Regions from separate parts of the Homo sapiens genome. Here all the other regions are linked to region 1. Evidence: promoter capture Hi-C in human tissues and cell types (Jung and others, 2019). All regions are on one chromosome and are shown on one strand. Each heading gives the region's core, a stretch centred on a gene start or on the middle of the fragment in contact. The rest is flanking DNA. Distances are from core to core; before and after follow the strand shown. Region 1 holds the start of CREB3L3 (cAMP responsive element binding protein 3 like 3). Region 2 overlaps SH3GL1 (SH3 domain containing GRB2 like 1, endophilin A2). Region 3 holds the start of TMIGD2 (transmembrane and immunoglobulin domain containing 2).

Region 1 (2,700 bases), core at 109-2,608:
GTGTCTCAGGATGCCGTCCTGCCGGTCAAACAGGAGATCCAGGAGCTCAAAGCTGTCGATGGGGTCCATGGAGCAGGCAGCAGAAGCCATCTGGGGCGCGAGGAACAGATGTGAGGGTCACATACAGCCCCTGTCCTCCCCACCTCCCATGTGCACATAACCCTGGCTCTTTCCGGCTAGAGTTCAGTTGCCGCTCTGCCTCCGGGTTGGGCCAGCTGCTGCCCCTCGCTGAGACTCCCTTTCCAAATCTGGACTTTGAGGCTGATAGAGAGAATTCCACAGTGTGAGAGCCAATTTCTCTTAAAGTGCTGGAGAGGCTGGATGTGGTGGCTCATGCCTGTAATCTCAGCACTTTGGGAGGCCGGGGCAGGAGGATCACTTGAGCCCAGGAGTTCAAGACCAGCCTGCGCAACATAGAGACCCCTATCCCTACTGCAAATAATTTAAAAAAATTAGCTGGCTGCGGTGGCACACACTTGTCGTCCCAGCTACTGGGGAGGCTGAGGTAGGAGGATCCCTTGAACCCAGGAGGTTGAGGCTGCAGTGAGCTATGGCCACCCCACTGCACTCCACCCTGGGTCACAGAGCAAGACCTTGTTTCAAAAAACAAAAAAGTATGGCAGGCACGGTGGCTCACATCTGTAATCCCAGCACTCTGGGAAGCCGAGGCGGGCAGCTCACCTGAAGTCAGGAGTTTGAGACCAGCCTAGCCAACATGGTGAAACCCTGTCTCTAGGAAAAGTACAAAAATTAGCCGGGCGTGGTGGTGCACACCTGTAATCCCAACTACTTGGGAGGCTGAGGCAGGAAGATCTCTTGAACCCAGGAGGTGGAAGTTGCAGTGAGCTGAGATCGTGCCATTGCACTCTAGCCTGGGTGACAGAGGGAGACTCCATCTCAAAAAATAAAAATAAAAATAAAATAAAATAAAATAAAAAGTGCTGGAGAGAGGCCCTAGCTAGAGATGCCGCTTGCCTCTCAGGCCTTCACAGCCTCCCCAAGTGCCCGCTCCTAGGAGGCAGGGGGACCTGGAAGAAAGACAAGGGCAGCCCCGGGGCAAAGGCACACAGTTTTGCTCATTGCATCCTTTCTCTGGGCCTCAGTCTTCCCATCTGTACAATAGGGGTGGAGATGGGGTCCTTCCAGCTCTGGCAGCTTGGGTAGGCTTTCCCAGCCTAGACTCCCGCTCTCCCTGGGGACCTAGTAGGGCTCACCTTTCCAGCAGCTAAATCCGTATTCATGGGTCCATCCAGTTCTGTCTGCAGATGCCTCGGGGGGTCTCTGCTCCAAGCTGGAGGCCCACCCACCGCCAGCGTTACCTGGGGCCGGGCAAGCTCACAGCCCTCTGTGGCTCTGTCACCACTCCCAAAAGATGCTGAAGCGGTCACAGGCAGCTCCCAGCCCACCTCCAGGTGCTGATTGGTGGACAGGGTGGAGAGACAGGGTTGAGGGCCAGTGACACTGGGGCAGGCAGGAGCAGGGGAGGGAAGACCGTTATCTGGGTGTTTTGTGGTTTTCCAGCCCTCAGTGAGCAAAGGTCGAAGTCTGGGGTACCTCCACTCTGCCGTGACCTCTGCCCTACTTATGAGGACTTTTTCTTTTTTTCTTTCTTTTTTGAGACGGAGTCTCGCTCTGTGGCCCAAGCTGGAGTGCAGTGGTGCCATCTCATTTCGGCTCACTGCAACCTCTGCCTCTTGGGTTCAAGTGATTCTCCTGCCTCAGCCTCCCGAGTAGCTGGGACTACAGGTCCCCATCACCATGCCCGGCTAACTTTTGTATTTTTAGTAGAGACGAGGTTTCATCATGTTTTCCAGGCTGGTCTCGAACTCCTGACCTCGTGATCGGCCCCTCAGTCTCCCAAAGTGCGGGGATTACAGGCGTGAGCCACCGCACCCGGCCAGTTACAGGACTTTTTCTCTTCAGAATTCCCAGATGGGTTCTGGGATAGCCCAGGGCCCTTACATGGGTCCTGTCCACTCCCTGGACAGAAACAAACCAAGAGGACCAGACCAGATCTTCACTGAAGCCAGTTTTCCTGCCAGCAGCTAGCGGCTCCCATCCTTCACCCCACCTGCCAACCTCCGGCCCCCAGCCCCCTCCGAAACCAGCTTGGACTCCGCCTCTGAGTCCCCATGGGTGATTCTGTGCAATCAATTCTCTCTAGAATCTTCTATCGTTCATTGAGTCAACAAATATTTATGGAGCCAAACTGGTTCCTGCTTAGGGCCTTTGCACCTACTCACCTGCTCGCCCCTCTGCCTGGAACTCTCCTCTTGTACCCTCCCTCTTCCCCTCTGGCTCTAGGTCACTGTATTGACATTTTAGTGAATGTTCGATATTTGTGAATCAGCCCGGGTGGCTGAGAGGTGTCTCTGACCTCCCCTCCACCCCCTACCAAGAGAGAGGAGCCCTGTTTTGTTTTTTTGTTTTTTTTTTTGGTGTTGGTGGAGGACAGGGTCTCACTCTATTGCCCAGGCTGGAGTGCAGTGGCAGGATCATAGCTCACTGCAGCCTCCAACTCCTGGGTTCAAGTGATCCTCCCGTCTCAGCCTCCCAAGTAGCTAGGACTGCAGGCGTGCACCACCACACCTGGCTAATTTTGTTTTTTTTTTTTTATAGAGATGGGGTCTTACTGTGTTGGCCAGTATGGTCTCAAACTCCTGGGCTCAAATGATCCACCTGCTTCAGCCTCCCAAAGTG
Region 2 (2,700 bases), core at 59-2,558, 210 kb before region 1:
CACACAGCCAACGCAGTGTGGCACCACACGGACCCTCATGGCATCCCTTGGCCACGTCTTGTGACAGCTCGGGGCAGGCAAGCACCAATCAGACCTGGGGAGCACCAGGGGCACAGGCCATGGCCCACGGCACGCAACACCTCACTCTCCTGCCCAGGCCGTGTGTGCACGTCTTCACACAAGTGATCAGACCCGGGATGTTAAATTTGCCGATGACTTCAGAGATGGCACACCCTGTGACACTTGGCCCCCAGAGGGCAGGGCCAAGCTTGTGACCTCAGGCGGCCTCCCTCTGGGAGCCTCCATTTGTGGCAGGGCCTGGCAGCCACTCGGCTCTTCATGAAGCGCTGTGTGCTGGGAAGGGCCTCACACTGTCCATCCTCACTCTGTGCGGCATCCCTTGGCGCCAGGCACACATGGGATACGTGGGGTGAAGAAAGCAACGCCTGTGCTCAGACAGCGGTGCTGGGGTTCAGTGGTTCCCGCCATGTTCCATGGGACATTTCAGGGCTGTTTTTCGCATCCCAGGCGCTGTCAGAGGGAGTGGTTTGGGAATTCAGTGCTTGCTTCTGCCTTCCCACCACACGAGGAAAGACGCTGTAAGTGCCTGTCATTGTCATCGCTTTCACCGTAGCTGAGAGCCGTGAGGACCAAGGTGTGCCAGGCCTGTGTTGACTGCCTTGTGAAACTCAGTGTCCACATGGGGCAAGGGCTGGGCTGTCCCATCCTGCAGACACGGGCACCAGAGCACAGGAGAATGGCGGCCTCCCTGCCCGGCTGCCTGCACCTCTTCTCGTAACTGTCAGCTCCTGCTGCCTCTCCCAGCCAAGCTGGCAGGATTTTTTTTTTTAAGTAGACCCCACATACTCAAGGATGGGGGCAGATCCCCACATTGCTATCTGTGGGGATGTTTGTGTAGGCGCTTCTGGAAGCAGTGTCTTCTGAGCCATGTGTTCTCAGGCTGAGGCTCTGGACTCCACCGTGGCCCAGATGGGGCCTACTGTGGCAGGGTCCCCAGTGGGTATGTGAGTGGCAGTCGGGACACACACAGGTGGGCAGGCCACCCCCACCCTCCCCCTCCCCCTGCAGGCCCACCCTGCTCTGCAGGCAGCGTGTGGCCCTGGGGTGCCCACGGCAGTGCCTGAGGTGTGTGTCCTGATCACTTGGCCTCCTGCCTCCAGCTGTGGATGCGATGTGGCTGGAAGGCGGCTCAGGGCCTCCTGTCCTCTTCTTCCTCCTACCCCTGGGCTCACAGCGTTTCCCCTCTTCTGTCCTCTAGCTGGTCAGTGAGAAGGTCGGAGGGGCCGAGGGGACCAAGCTGGATGATGACTTCAAAGAGATGGAGAAGGTGAGGAAGAAACTGCGTGCTCTGTGTGGTGGTGGCACTGCTGGGGCCTGACCTCTGCCGGGCATAGTGGAGGCGGCCAACCTTGATGGGCCTGGGTCTGGAGTGATGGGGCCCGGCAGGTGTGGAGAGATGGGGTGGTGTGGGGGCCTCGTCAGCTGGACTTGACGGGCACCAGCTCTCTCCCCTGCCGTGGGCAGGCAGCTGTGGGGACATGGCTGAGCTGAAGACATGGAGAGGGGGTTGGGGGGTCCTGGTATGGGCTCTTAGGGCAGGAGGCGGTGCAGCAGCGGGGGTCTTGTGTGCCTTGGGCCCCCACTGGCTGTGGAGTCTTATATGCTGCTTCTCTTCACAGAAGGTGGATGTCACCAGCAAGGCGGTGACAGAAGTGCTGGCCAGGACCATCGAGTACCTGCAGCCCAACCCAGGTGGGTGCTCCAGCCACTGCCAGGGCCTGCCCCAGGCCCTCTGGCCTCTGTGTCAGAGGGAAGGCAGGGGATGACAGAACCGCCAGGCTCATGGGTTGTGGGCTTCAGGCACAGCTGGATCCCGGAGTGCAGAGGCCATCCTTGGTGCTGCATGCTGCCTTTCCACCTCAACCAGCAGCTCAGCCCCTCTGTTGGCTTCACTCTCATGCCGACTGGTTCCTCAGGGCCGTCCCAGCCTTCAACCCCTCTTCCAGCCAGCAGTCCTGGCAGGGAGCCTCTCCCCCAGCTTACTTGTGGGATCCATTTGTATTGGCCGCCCCTCCCCAGTGCCCCTGGCCTGGACTTCACCTCTTGGGCTTGGGACTGGGTCTCCCTGGCTGAGAGACGGGCTTTTCCCCAAGGAAAACCCAAATGCTGGCTCCATAGGAGGCCACGGACAGGGGGCAGACGCACACCCAGCAGTGTCCACTCAGGCCCTGCCAGGAGCAGACCCAAGCGGGCAGCGGAAGGGACACAGCTCATCACCCACCCCGGGAGCCTTGGCCTCAACCACCCCCCGCTGCACATCACTGCTGCGCCTCCTCCCTGGCACCCCCCAGATGAGGGGTCATAGCCACGTTCCAAGAGGAGCAGCCCTTGGAAGGAGGAGGTTTTGCCCCCTGAGGAGCTTGGTCACCTCTCCACCCGCTGCCAGCTCCTTTGAGGCTAGCAGGAGCAGGGAAGGGACCCTCTGGGGATTCCACTGTGCTTTGTGTGGCCTAGGCTGTCCACAGGCACAGGAAGCAAGGGTGGGGAGGAGATGTGGGGGCTGCAGTCTGCCAGGGCAGAGGAGTGCAGGCCTCACAGCCCACACCCACCTGGCCATCCTATCCCAGCCTCGCGGGCTAAGCTGACCATGCTCAACACGGTGTCCAAGATCCGGGGCCA
Region 3 (2,700 bases), core at 83-2,582, 150 kb before region 1:
TTTTTAAATTATTATTATTATTTTTTTTTAGAGACGGACTCACTCTGTTGCCCAGGCTGGAGTAACGGGGCGCAATCATGGCTTACTGCAGCCTCCAACTCCTGGGCTCAAGCGGTTCTCCTGCCTCAGCCTCCCGAGTGGCTGGGACTATAGGCATGCACCATCACCCTGGGTTGGTTTTGTATCTTTTTTTTTTTTTTTGAGACACAGTCTCACTCTGTCGCCCAGGCTGGAGTGCAGTGGCAGGATCTCGGCTCCCTGTAATCTCCATCTCCCCAGTTCTGGCGATTCTCCTGCCTCAACCCCACTGAGTAGCTGGGACTACAGGCGCCCACCACTAGGCCCAGCTAATTTTTGTATTTTTAGTAGAGACCGGGTTTTGCCATGTTGGCTAGGCTGGTCTTGAACTCCTGACCTCAGGTGATCCACCCGCCTTGGCCTCCCAAAGTGCTGGGATTACAGGCCTGGGCCACCATGCCCAGCCTGTATCTTTTTTTTTTTTTTTTTTTTTTTAATAGAGATTGGATCTCGCTGTGTTACCCCAGGTTGATCTTAAACTCGGCTCAAGTGATCCTCCCACCTCAGCCTCACAAAGTGCTGGGATTACAGGTGTGAGCTACAGCGCCCAGCAAAAGAAAGACATTTTGGGAGCAAAATAATTGAGGCAGGGACCCTGTCATTTAACTCACTGCTCAGGCCTATGTCGCCTGCCCCTCCCCCACGGAGCCACCTGCTCTCGCACTGTGTCTTCCTGTACCTAGATGTGTTTATGTAGAGCCTTCCAGAAAGCTCACAGGGGTGGATTCCTCCCACTCACTTGCATACACTGCCTTTCTTTTCTTTTTTTCTGAGACGGAGTTTCACTCTTGTCGCCCAGGCTGGAGTGCAGTGGCGTGATCTTGGCTCACTGCAACCTCCGCCTCCCGGGTTTAAGCCATTCTCCTGCCTCAGCCTCCCAAGTAGCTGGGATTATAGGCGCCCATCACCATGTCCAGCTAATTTCTGTATTTTTAGTAGAAATTAGTAGGGGTTTCATCATGTTGGCCAAGCTGGTCTCGAACTCCTGACCTCAGGTGATCCACCTGCCTCGGCCTCCCAAAGTGCTGGGATTACAGACATGAGCCATGTTGCCTGGTCCGTACACTGCCTTTCAGATAGAAAATGCATTGGGGAAACTGAGGCACGAGGTGGCAGGAAGTGGAGCCCCCAGCAGGCTGGAACACCGGACGTCTGTTGTCTGGCCCTGGGTGTTGCATCTGCTTCTGCAGCGGGAGGCGGAGATTGTGGCAGGAAGTCTGTCAACTGGGAGGGGGAGAGGGGGGTGATGGGCCAGGAATGGGGTCCCCGGGCATGGTGCTGGGCCTCCTGGTGCAGATCTGGGGTGAGTATCTGGGCCTCCCTCCCCTCTGAACCCCACTCTTGCTGTCATCCCCAGCTGCCTGCCCCCCAGCTCAGGGCCCCTCTAAACTTCAGTCTCTCTACTGTCAGATAAGGCCCATCTCCCTCCGAGACTCAGAACGTGATGGGGGCTGGAGGATTAAGGAAGGATCCTCTGAGGGCCCCTAGGATACAATCTAAACCTTGCCCTACATACCAGCCTGGCCTGGCCTCTCTCATCTCCACCCTCCGCAGTGCCTTTGCTCCCTCCCTCTTGCTCTAGCCTGGGGACTTTTCTTTCTCTGTTTCCGCAATGGGAAGGCTGGATCTGGCCTTCGAGCCTTTGCACCTGCTGTTCCAGCTGCCTAATACCCTTCTCCAGATCTCATGTCTCTACCCTCCTCTGCAATTGCATCTCAAATGCCAGGAACTTCACATAACCTCAACTTCTCCGGGGGTCTAACAGACACGTCAGACTTCTCACAGCTAAAAGCAGACTTTCTACTCCGGCAGCAGCTCCCTCTGTGTTTCCAATTAAGGACAAAGGCTGCTGCCCTTCACACATTTCCTGGGGCGAAAACCTCCATTCCTCTTTCCCTCTCCTCTGATTCCAGCCGCTTGCACTTTTTTGTTGTTCATTTGTGTTTTTTTGTTTGTTTGTTTTGTTTTGTTTTGAGAAGGAGTCTTGCTCTGTCACCCAGGCTAGAGTGCAGTGACGCGATCTCGGTTGACTGCAACCTCTGCCTCCCAGGTTCAAGAGATTCTCCTGCCTCAGGCTCCCGAGTAGCTGGGACTGCAGGCGCGCGCCACTGCGCCTGGCTAATTTTTTTTGTATTTTTAGTAGAGACGGGGTTTCGCCATCTCGGCCAGGTGGGTCTCGAACTCCTGACCTCATGATCCACCCACCTTGGCCTCCCAAAGTGCTGGGATTACAGGCGTGAGCCACCGTGCCCAGTCATTTTTGTTTTTTAGAGATGGGTCTCACTATGTTGCCCAGGCTGGTCTTGAACTCCTGGCCTCAAGCAATCACCCAGTCTTGGCCACCCAAAGGGCTGGGATAACAGGCATGAGCCACCACACCCAACCAAGGTCTTTTTATTAAAACTTAAATTGGAGACTGAGGCAGGTGGATCACTTGAGGTCAGGAGTTCCAGACCAGCCTGGCCATGTTGGTGAAACCCCATCTCTACCAAAAATACAAAAATTAGCTGGGCGTGGTAGCGAGTGCCTGTAGTCCCAGCTACTCAAGAGGCTGAGCCACAAGAATCACTTGAACCTGGGAGGCAGAGGTTGCAATGAGCCGAGATCACACCACTGCACTCC

Evidence for each region. Contacts are between HindIII fragments. The study calls those that stand out against the background at their distance.
Region 2: a contact is called between a fragment that was not itself captured here and the fragment with the promoter of CREB3L3 in region 1, in 4 of the 25 tissues and cell types used here (dorsolateral prefrontal cortex, mesenchymal stem cells, psoas muscle and 1 more).
Region 3: a contact is called between the fragment with the promoter of TMIGD2 here and the fragment with the promoter of CREB3L3 in region 1, in 4 of the 25 tissues and cell types used here (dorsolateral prefrontal cortex, lymphoblastoid cells, mesenchymal stem cells and 1 more).

What each region holds. Positions count from the first base shown.
Region 1 is chr19:4,152,289-4,154,988 of GRCh38, reverse strand. It overlaps CREB3L3 (cAMP responsive element binding protein 3 like 3), which reads right to left and starts at 1,358. Exons shown (of 10, transcript NM_032607.3): 1 at 1,215-1,358; 2 at 1-90. The coding sequence starts at 1,241. The HindIII fragment of the contact is 37,156 bases long and covers 1-2,700 here.
Region 2 is chr19:4,365,574-4,368,273 of GRCh38, reverse strand. SH3GL1 (SH3 domain containing GRB2 like 1, endophilin A2) reads left to right here. Exons shown (of 10, transcript NM_003025.4): 2 at 1,280-1,348; 3 at 1,701-1,773; 4 at 2,649-2,700. Among named protein-coding and RNA genes, the nearest start is that of MPND, 23 kb to the right of the region's middle. RefSeq lists an enhancer at 1,431-2,352. The HindIII fragment of the contact is 3,201 bases long and covers 1-2,700 here.
Region 3 is chr19:4,301,021-4,303,720 of GRCh38, reverse strand. It overlaps TMIGD2 (transmembrane and immunoglobulin domain containing 2), which reads left to right and starts at 1,332. Exons shown (of 5, transcript NM_001169126.2): 1 at 1,332-1,381. The coding sequence starts at 1,336. RefSeq lists an enhancer at 1,326-1,871. The HindIII fragment of the contact is 29,023 bases long and covers 1-2,700 here.